Linked DNA regions of Homo sapiens: region 1 is linked to region 2. Evidence: promoter capture Hi-C in human tissues and cell types (Jung and others, 2019). All regions are on one chromosome and are shown on one strand. Each heading gives the region's core, a stretch centred on a gene start or on the middle of the fragment in contact. The rest is flanking DNA. Distances are from core to core; before and after follow the strand shown. Region 1 overlaps ATP8A1 (ATPase phospholipid transporting 8A1). Region 2 holds the start of UCHL1 (ubiquitin C-terminal hydrolase L1).

Region 1 (4,253 bases), core at 37-2,536, 1.3 Mb after region 2:
AACACACTGGACTTATTGGTGAGATATTTGTGTGCCAGAGGATGGGAAATAAACCTGACTAAAATTAAGGGACCTTCTACCCCAGTAAAATTTCTAGGGGTCCAGTGGTGTGGGGGCTGTTGAGATATTCCTTCTAAGGTGAAGGATAAGTTGTTGCATTTGGCCCCTCCTACAATGAGAGGCACAATGCCTAGTGGGCTTATGTGGATTTTGGAGGCATCACATTCCTTATCTAGGTGTGTTACTCTGGCCCATTTATCAAGTGACCCTAAAGGCCACTGGACCCCAGTTTTGAGTGGGGTCCAGAACGGACACAGGTCCAGGCTGCTGTACAAGCTGCTCTGCCACTTGGTCCATATGACCTAGCAGATTCAATGGTATTTGAGGTGTCAGTGGCAGACGGGGATGCTGTTTGGAGCCTTTGGCAGGCCCCCATAGGTGAATCACAGTGGAGGCATCTAGGATTTTGGAGCAAGGCCCTGCCATAATCTGCAGGTAACTACTCTCCTTTTGAGAGACAGCTCTTGGCTTGTTACTGGGCTTTGGTGGAAACTGAACATTTGACCATGGGTCATCAAGTCACGATGCGACCTGAACTGCGTATCATGAACTGGGTACTTTCTGACCCATCTAGCCATCAAGTGGGTCATGCACCAGCAGCACTGCATCATCAAATTGAAGTGGTATATACGTGATCAGGCTTGAGCAGGTCCTGAAGGCACAAGTAAGTTATGTGAGGAAGTGCCTCAAATGCCCATGGTCTCCACTCCTACCACTGTGCCTTCTCTTCCCCAGCCTGCACCGATGGCCTCATGGGGAGTTCCCTATGATCCAGTTGACAGAGGAAGAGAAGACTAGGGCCTGGTTCACAGATGGTTCTGCACGATATGCAGGCACTACCCGAAAGTAGACAGCTGAAGCACGACAGCCCCTTTCTAGGACATCCCTGAGGGACAGTGGTGAGGTGAAATCTTCCCGGTGGGCAGCACTTCAAGCAGTGCAGCTGGTTGTGCACTTTGCATGGAAAGAGAAATGGCCAGATGTGTGATTATATACTGATTCATGGGCTGTAGCCAATGGTTTGGCTGGATGGTCAGGGACTTGGAAGAAGCATGACTGGAAAATTGGTGACAAAGAAATCTGGGGAAGAAGTATGTGGATGGACCTCTGAGTGGTCAAAAACCGTGAAGATATTTGTATCCCATGTGAGTGCTCACCAACGGGTAATCTCAGCAGAGGAGGAGTTTAATAATCAAGTGGATAGGATGAACTGTTCTGTGGACACCACTCAGCCTCTTTCCCCAGCCACCCCTGTCATTACCCAATGGGCCCATGAACAAAGTGGCCATGGTGGCAAGGATGGAGGTTACGCATGGGCTCAGCAACATGGACTTCTACTCACCAAGGATGACCTGGCTATGGCCACTGCTGAGTGCCCAATTTGCCAGCCGCAGAGACCAGCACTGAGCCCTTGATATGGCACCATTCCTTGGGGTGATCAGCCAGCCACCTGGTGGCAGATTTTTGCATCATGAAAAGGGCAGAGGTTTATCCTCACTGGAACAGACACTTACTCTGGATATGGGTTTGCCTATCCTGCACGCAGTGCTTCTGCCAAGACTACCATCTGTGGACTCAAGATCTTCCACACAGTACTGCCTCTGACCAAGGCACTTACTAAAGAAGTGTGGCAGTGGGCTCATGCATCCACTGTCACAGTATTCCACACAGCACTGCCTCTGGCCAAGGCACTCACTTTATGGCTAAAGACGTGTGGCAGTGGGCTCACTGGTCTTACCATGGAACTCACTGGTCTTACCATGTTCCCATCATCCTGAAGCAGCTAGATTGATAGAAGGGTGGAATGGCCTTTTGAGTTACAATTACAGTGCCAACTAGGTGACAACACTTTGCAGGGCCGGAGCAAAGTTCTCCAGAAGGCCGTGTATGCTCTGAATCAGCATCCAATATATGGTACTGTTTCTCCCATAGCCAGGATTCAGGGGTCCAGGAATCAAGGGGTGGAAGTGGAAGTGGCACCACTCACCATCACTCCTAGTGATCCACTAGCAACATTTTTGCTTCCTGTTCCTGCGACATTATGTTCTGCTGGCCTAGAGGTCTTAGTTCCAGAGGGAGGAACACTGTTATCAGGAGACACAACAATGATTCAATTAAACTGGAAGTTAAGATTGCCACCTGGACACTTTGGGCTCCTCCTACCTTTAAGTCAACAGGCTAAGGGAGTTACAGTGTTGGCTGGGGTGACTGACCCAGACTACCAAGATGAAATCAGTCTACTGCTCCATAACAGAGGTAGGGAAGAGTATGTACGGAATACAGCGAATCCATTAGGGCGACTCTTAGTATTACCATGCCCTGTGATTAAGGTCAATGGGAAACTACAACAGCCCAATCCAGGCAGGACTACAAATGGTCCAGACCCTTCAGGAATGAAGGTTTGGGTCACTCCACCAGGAAAAAAACCACAACCTGCTGAGGTGCTTGCTGAAGGCAAAGGGAAAACAGAATGGGTAGCAGAAGAGGGCAGTCAACAATACCAGTTACGACTACATGACCAGCTGCAGAAACAAAGACTGTAACTGTCATGAGTATTTCCTCACCAATTCCCCAGCTAACATCATATTGAAAAGGGAAAAGCTGAAAGCTTTCCTCCAAGAACTGGAACAAGATGAGGAAGCCCTCTTTCTTCACAGCTATTCAAAATAGTACTGGAAGTCAAGGCCAGAGCAATCAACAAGAGAAAAAAATAAAAGGAATACAAATTGGAAAAGAGGAAGTCAAATTGTTCCTCTTTGCTGATGACATATCTTATATCTGCAAAAAACTGAAGACTCTAACAAAAAACTTAAATTTTAATAAATGAATTCAGTCAAGTTGCAGGATACAAAATCAATGTACAAAAATCAGTAGCACTTCTATATACCAACAATATCTAGATGAGAAAGAAAAAAGCCAATCCCATTTACAACAGTCATAAAAAACATAAAATACCAGGGCCAGGTGCGGTGGCTCACACCTGTAATCCTAGCAGTTTGGGAGGCTGAGGTAGGCATTCAAGACCTGCCTGAGCAACAAGGTGAAACCCCACCTCTACAAAAAACACAAAAAAGTTAGCCAGGTGTGGTGGTGCGTGCTTGCAGTCCCAGTTACTCGGGAGTATGAGGTGGAAGGATCATGTGAGCACAGGAAGTCAAGGCTGCAGTGAGCCATGATCATACCACTGCACTCCAGCCTGGGCAGCAGAGTGAGACCCTGCCTCAAAAAAATACACACACACACAGACACAGACACACAGACACACACACACATAAAATACACGGGAATAAATTTAACCAAGGAGGTGAAAGATCTCTATAAGAAAAACAAAACGCCTGTAATCCCAGCACATTGGGAGCACACTGGGAGGCCGAGGTGGGCTGATCACCTGAGGTCAGGAGTTCAAGACCAGCCTGGCCAACATGGTGAGACCCTGTCTCTACATAAAATACAAAAAATTAACTGGGCATGATGGCGGGTGACTGTAATCCCAGCTACTCAGGAGGCTGAGGCAGGAGAATCGCTTGAACCCAGAAGGTGGAGGTTGTAGTGAGCTGAGATCGTGCCACTGTACTCCAGTCTGGGTGACAAACTCCATCTCAAAAAAAAAATAAATAAATTGAAGGTGACACAAAAAAAATAGAAAACATCCCATGCCCCACTGGATTGGAATAATATAACTAAAATGACCATATTGCCCAAAGCAATCTATAGATTCAATGCAATCCCTATCAAAATACCAATGTTGAAAATGGCAGATAGGAGGCAGGACTAACTTGCAGCTCCTACTCAGATGGATGGAGCAGCGTGGAGACTCATACTGTGAATTGTCAGGCCTCTGAGCCCAAGCTAAGCCATCATATCCCCTGTGACTTGCATGTATACATCCAGATGGCCTGAAGCAACTGAAGATGCACAAAAGTGAAAATAGCCTTAACGGATGACATTCCACTATTGTGATTTGTTCCTGCCCCACCCTAACTGATACGATATATTCTCCCTCACCCTTAAGAAGGTACTTTGTAATATTCCCCCCAGCCCTTAAGAATGTACTTTGTACGCCTATCCCAAACCTATGAGAACTAATGATAATCCCACCACCCTTTGCTGACTCCTTTTTTGGACTCAGCCCACCTGCACCCAGGTGAAATAAACAGCCTTGTTGCTCACACAAAGCCTGTTTGGTGAACTCT
Region 2 (4,605 bases), core at 1,820-4,319:
TTATGTAATCGTCACCTAAATCCCTGTTAAATTTCATCATTTTATTTTAAACTTATTTTTTAATCCCAAAATTCTGCCATTTATTATGTATTTATTTATTTTAAGAGATGGGGTCTCACTCTGTTGCCCAGGTTGGAATGCAGTCATGCCATCACAGCTCATTGTAGCCTCGAACTCCTGGGCTCAAGCAATCCTCCCACTTTGGCCTCTCAAGTAGCTGGGACTGCAGGTACACACCACCACACCTGGCTAAGAATTCTGCCATTTAGACTGCTTGTTCTTGCTTGTATGCACGACCTCTCTTTTTCTCTGCTGTAATAAAGTGGCACCAGACAAGGTTAAAACCATTGTCAGGTGGCTACAGGTTGAGGTAGCTCCATCCAGTACCACTTTTTTTTTTAAGGTAGAATCAATTAAATAAGCTATAAAACCACCTCAACTGTGGTATCAACCAATGCCAACCCTGGCAGCATAAGAAATACAATGACAGTGTTCTACCTGTCCATCCAGTTAATAACCCCCAAAGAAAAGAAGATAAGTTCTGGCTGGCATAACTTGTTCTAAATGCATCCATCTTATTGTTTCTAAAAGTAAAAAATTATGAGTCCTAACATTTGGCTAATGACTGATATAAACTCTTCTGGCCTGCAGTTTCAGCAGTATATTCCCAATCACCCCCTACTTCTTCTTCTTCTTCTTTTTTTTTTTTTTAAAAAAGATTAGGCTTAGGTTTGTTCATATCCAGTCTCTGGCATCTCTTTGTAAGCAGGGAGTTGTTTCATTCACTGCTCTGATGCTTCCTGGCAAACAGTAGGCCATATATGTATATGAATGTGAATGAATTAATGCCTTCAACAAATATTTCTGACAGTGATTTCATGACTGCTTTTATTAGTTATTTTGGCAATCACTTATAACTGCTAACGTCTGCTTGCCGATCAGCCCTTAGCTTAAATGTCACTTCCTTCAGGACGCCTTCCTGATCCCCTCCACTAGGTTAGGTGCTCCTGATCTCTGCTCCCTTTCATACAACTCTTATGACTGATAAAAACAGCACGAGGGGGCCAGGCGCGGTGGCTCACGCCTGTAATCCCAGCACTTTGGGAGGCCGAGACGGGCGGATCACGAGGTCAGCAGATGAGACCATCCTGGCTAACACGGTGAAACCCCGTCTCTACTAAAAATACAAAAAAAATTAGCCGGGTGTGGTGGCGGGCGCCTGTAGTCCCAGCTACTCCGGAGGCTGAGGCAGGAGAATGGCGTGAACCGGGGAGGCGGAGCTTGCAGTGAGCCGAGATCGCGCCACTGCACTCCAGCTTGGGCGACAGAGCGAGACTCCGTCTCAAAACAAAACAAACAAAACAAACAAACAAAAAAACGGCATGAGGGAAATTTCCATGTTTATTGTGTTCATCTTTGTATGCCTAATTCCAAACTTTCCAAGCTCGGCACCCAGCACACAGTAGGTTCTTAATATTTGTTGAGTGAATGAATAAATGAAGTAAATTGGAAATGTAATTTGTCTTTGTCTAAAGGCAAGAACTCATTCAATATAACCTAGTCACTTGTCTTGACCTTCACCTCTTTTTTTCTTTAACAACCTTATTGAGGGAAAATTTACATACCATAAGATTCACCCATTAAGCTCCTCTTACTAATTTTTTTCTCTCTCATTTTTGTGTGTGAAGGTCATTTTCTAATGGCAAAAATGGAAAGAAAATAGAAGTAGAATGTTGTGGAATCTTAGATAAAGAATGGGCTCTTGGAGCCCAGTTTAGCAGGGTTTACTTCTCAGTTTTACTTTTCAATTGTGACCGTAAGCAAATTAACTTCTCTAGGCCTGGGATTCTGATCTGTAAAATTGCACTAATATGAGTCTCTTCACGGCTCCTCTAAGGATTAAATGAGAGACACATGCAAAGGATCCCCAAAAACAATAACTCAAAAAATGTTGATTCCCTCCCTTCCCTCTGTCATCTGTTAACCTCAACTTCCTAAATAGAAGGTCTATTCTTTTACCATCATCATTATTCTCTTCGGTGCCTATTTTTAAAAAATACTCAACCTTCTTGCTTCCTTCGCTACCTAAGTATTTCTGCAAGCCCACTTTGTTCTGCAGCTTAGCTTTCCTGGCACAATTCTTATAGATTTTGGTCCCTTTTAAAATTCATTCTTCAGCAAATGCTTTCTCTCTCCATCTTTTGACTAGAGATCATTAGAGATCACCTGAGATCATTAGAGAACAGTGGTTTCCTTGGTTGCCATTCCCTTTCTTCTTCATTGGGAGTATTCTGCGGTGAACTCAGACATTTTATTTTTCAAAGCTTCCCATTCTTTTAAAAATGCTTTTCCTTTTACAGCCTCTCGCTCAAAATCATACCCATCTTTTCCCTGGATCTGTTTTCTCAAGTCTCCAATCGCCTGCCTTCTTTGTGTCTTGTATTACCCTCACATCCCCCAGCTTTCTACTGCTCTCCCAGGACCAACCATTTCTTCCGCGGGAGTCACATTACATCAGCATTCCTAATGCAGTATCTGTTATCTACCAGATTCTGTTTTATTCTAGGTAGTCACTTAAAAACGAACCTCGGTACTGGTCTGACTTAACATGGAGGAGGAATTGTCTAAGGTTAAACGCAAACTGCTGAGAGATTTGGGGCGGGGGGCACACATTTACATTCATTCGTATTAAATATATACCTGTTGAATTTGTGCTTTTTCTCAAATGCTTCAGAGACTCGAGCTTTAGAGTAATTGGGATGGTGAAAGGATGGGTTTCCAGAAACTTCGCCCAAAATTAAAGACTCCATCAAAAGGACTGCTCCATACACTCAAGGAACACCCACCAACAAATCCCGTCTCCACAACCACCAGATTATCTCACCGGCGAGTGAGACTGCAAGGTTTGGGGGCCCGGCCGTACCACTCCGCGCTGCGCACGGGGGGTTCGTACCCATCTGGCCGCGACCGTCCGTTTCCCCCTCGCTTGGTTCTGCCCCTGCTCCCCCTGCACAGGCCTCACAGTGCGTCTGGCCGGCGCTTTATAGCTGCAGCCTGGGCGGCTCCGCTAGCTGTTTTTCGTCTTCCCTAGGCTATTTCTGCCGGGCGCTCCGCGAAGATGCAGCTCAAGCCGATGGAGATCAACCCCGAGGTGAGCGCCAGGTGCACCGCTACCCGGAGAGCGCGAGGCCGAGGGAGGGGGAGCCGAGTCGCTGATCGGTTCGGTTTTGCCTTTTTCTTTGCATTTGCCTTTCAGATGCTGAACAAAGTGAGTGGCGTCTCGCGCCGTCTCTGGCCCCCTCCCCCGCGAGCGCCGAGGCGGGGGCGCCCACCGGTTCCGGCTGCTGGCAGGGACCAAGCCGCCCGCTGCGAGCACCGGAGACGGCCGGGCTGGGGCGTGGGCTGGGCGCCTTTCCTGGGCCCCTGCATTTAGCGGGTGACTCTACGAAACCGGTCACGGGGAGACGGAGGGGGCTGCGCCCCGTGGCGAGCGAGCGCCAGGCGGAGCTCCCGAGGGCGTGGCGCGGGCAGCACAGACTCGGCTGCACGGGCTTCGCGGGCGCCACGTGTGGGCCGCGCTTTGTGCTGTGTCATTGCGCCGGCCCGGGTGGGGGTGGCAGGGCGGGACTGGGGCTCCTCCCAGGCTCGGGTGCGGGCGCGGAGGGCGCGCGCCTCCTGGCCCCGCCCCCTGGCAGGTGCCCGCGACCCGCGTGTCCCCGTGCGCCTGGCCGCCTTGTCTCCTCTCCGCAGGTGCTGTCCCGGCTGGGGGTCGCCGGCCAGTGGCGCTTCGTGGACGTGCTGGGGCTGGAAGAGGAGTCTCTGGGCTCGGTGCCAGCGCCTGCCTGCGCGCTGCTGCTGCTGTTTCCCCTCACGGCCCAGGTAGGGCGTGGGGCCCAGGATGCGCCGGCCGCCGGCAGTGCACGCCGCTCCCCAGCTTGAGTCCTCGGGGGCTCCCCGCCCCGCCCCCTCCCCTGTAGGTGATGCGGGGCGCGCCTACAAGGAAGGGAGGAGCCTGCATTTTCGTGGTACCTACTCCCTGGGCTCCTGTTCCAGCGGTGCCTGTCGCCTTCTTGCCCATCCGTCCACAATTGCCTTAAATTTGGAAGAGAGGCAGTATCTCAGTTCCATCTATCCCGTTATCCAGGGAAATCATTCATCCTACTCATGAGTTCCCTCGAACTTGGGCTTTTTCGAGCCTCCGGTTCCGGGGAATGGCTGCTGGTTTCCCTTTAAGGGCTATAACCTGTCAACTCATTGTTTGCTTCTCAGACTCCCACCTAGCTGTAGAATGGAGGGGGAAGGGCTGACCTAAATCGCAGGGAAACAATTAGGTTCGCTAATTCTCCGCCTCCATTACTTGGGTTTCTGATGGTCTTAAGGGGTTCTTCTCTCTTCTCCACTCCCACCACTTGCACACTTGGTTTTTAGCCTCTTGAATGTATTTCTTAAAGCTTAATCATTTTGTGTATGGTTTCTGTGTGGGAACCTCCTTCCTCTTCACTTATCCTTGTTCATCTCTGACCTTGTAGCTAACTGAAATAGGGGGTTATTAGCTCAGTTTTGAAAGCACCTTTGCATTTCCCTTGAAATGATTTTCCTCCTACA

Evidence for each region. The method cuts DNA at HindIII sites, captures the fragments that hold promoters and counts their contacts. A contact is called where the count stands out against the background at its distance.
Region 1: a fragment that was not itself captured here is called in contact with the fragment with the promoter of UCHL1 in region 2 in 1 of the 25 tissues and cell types used here (lymphoblastoid cells).

The regions. Positions count from the first base shown.
Region 1 is chr4:42,528,819-42,533,071 of GRCh38, forward strand. All of the region lies in intron 20 of ATP8A1 (ATPase phospholipid transporting 8A1), which reads right to left. Among named protein-coding and RNA genes, the nearest start is that of ATP8A1, 130 kb to the right of the region's middle. The HindIII fragment of the contact is 4,513 bases long and covers 1-3,543 here.
Region 2 is chr4:41,253,859-41,258,463 of GRCh38, forward strand. UCHL1 (ubiquitin C-terminal hydrolase L1) reads left to right here and starts at 3,070. Exons shown (of 9, transcript NM_004181.5): 1 at 3,070-3,151; 2 at 3,257-3,268; 3 at 3,751-3,879. The coding sequence starts at 3,119. UCHL1-DT (UCHL1 divergent transcript) reads right to left here and starts at 2,869. Exons shown (of 3, transcript NR_102709.1): 1 at 2,701-2,869. RefSeq lists a silencer at 3,186-3,945 and an enhancer at 3,780-4,280. The HindIII fragment of the contact is 4,741 bases long and covers 341-4,605 here.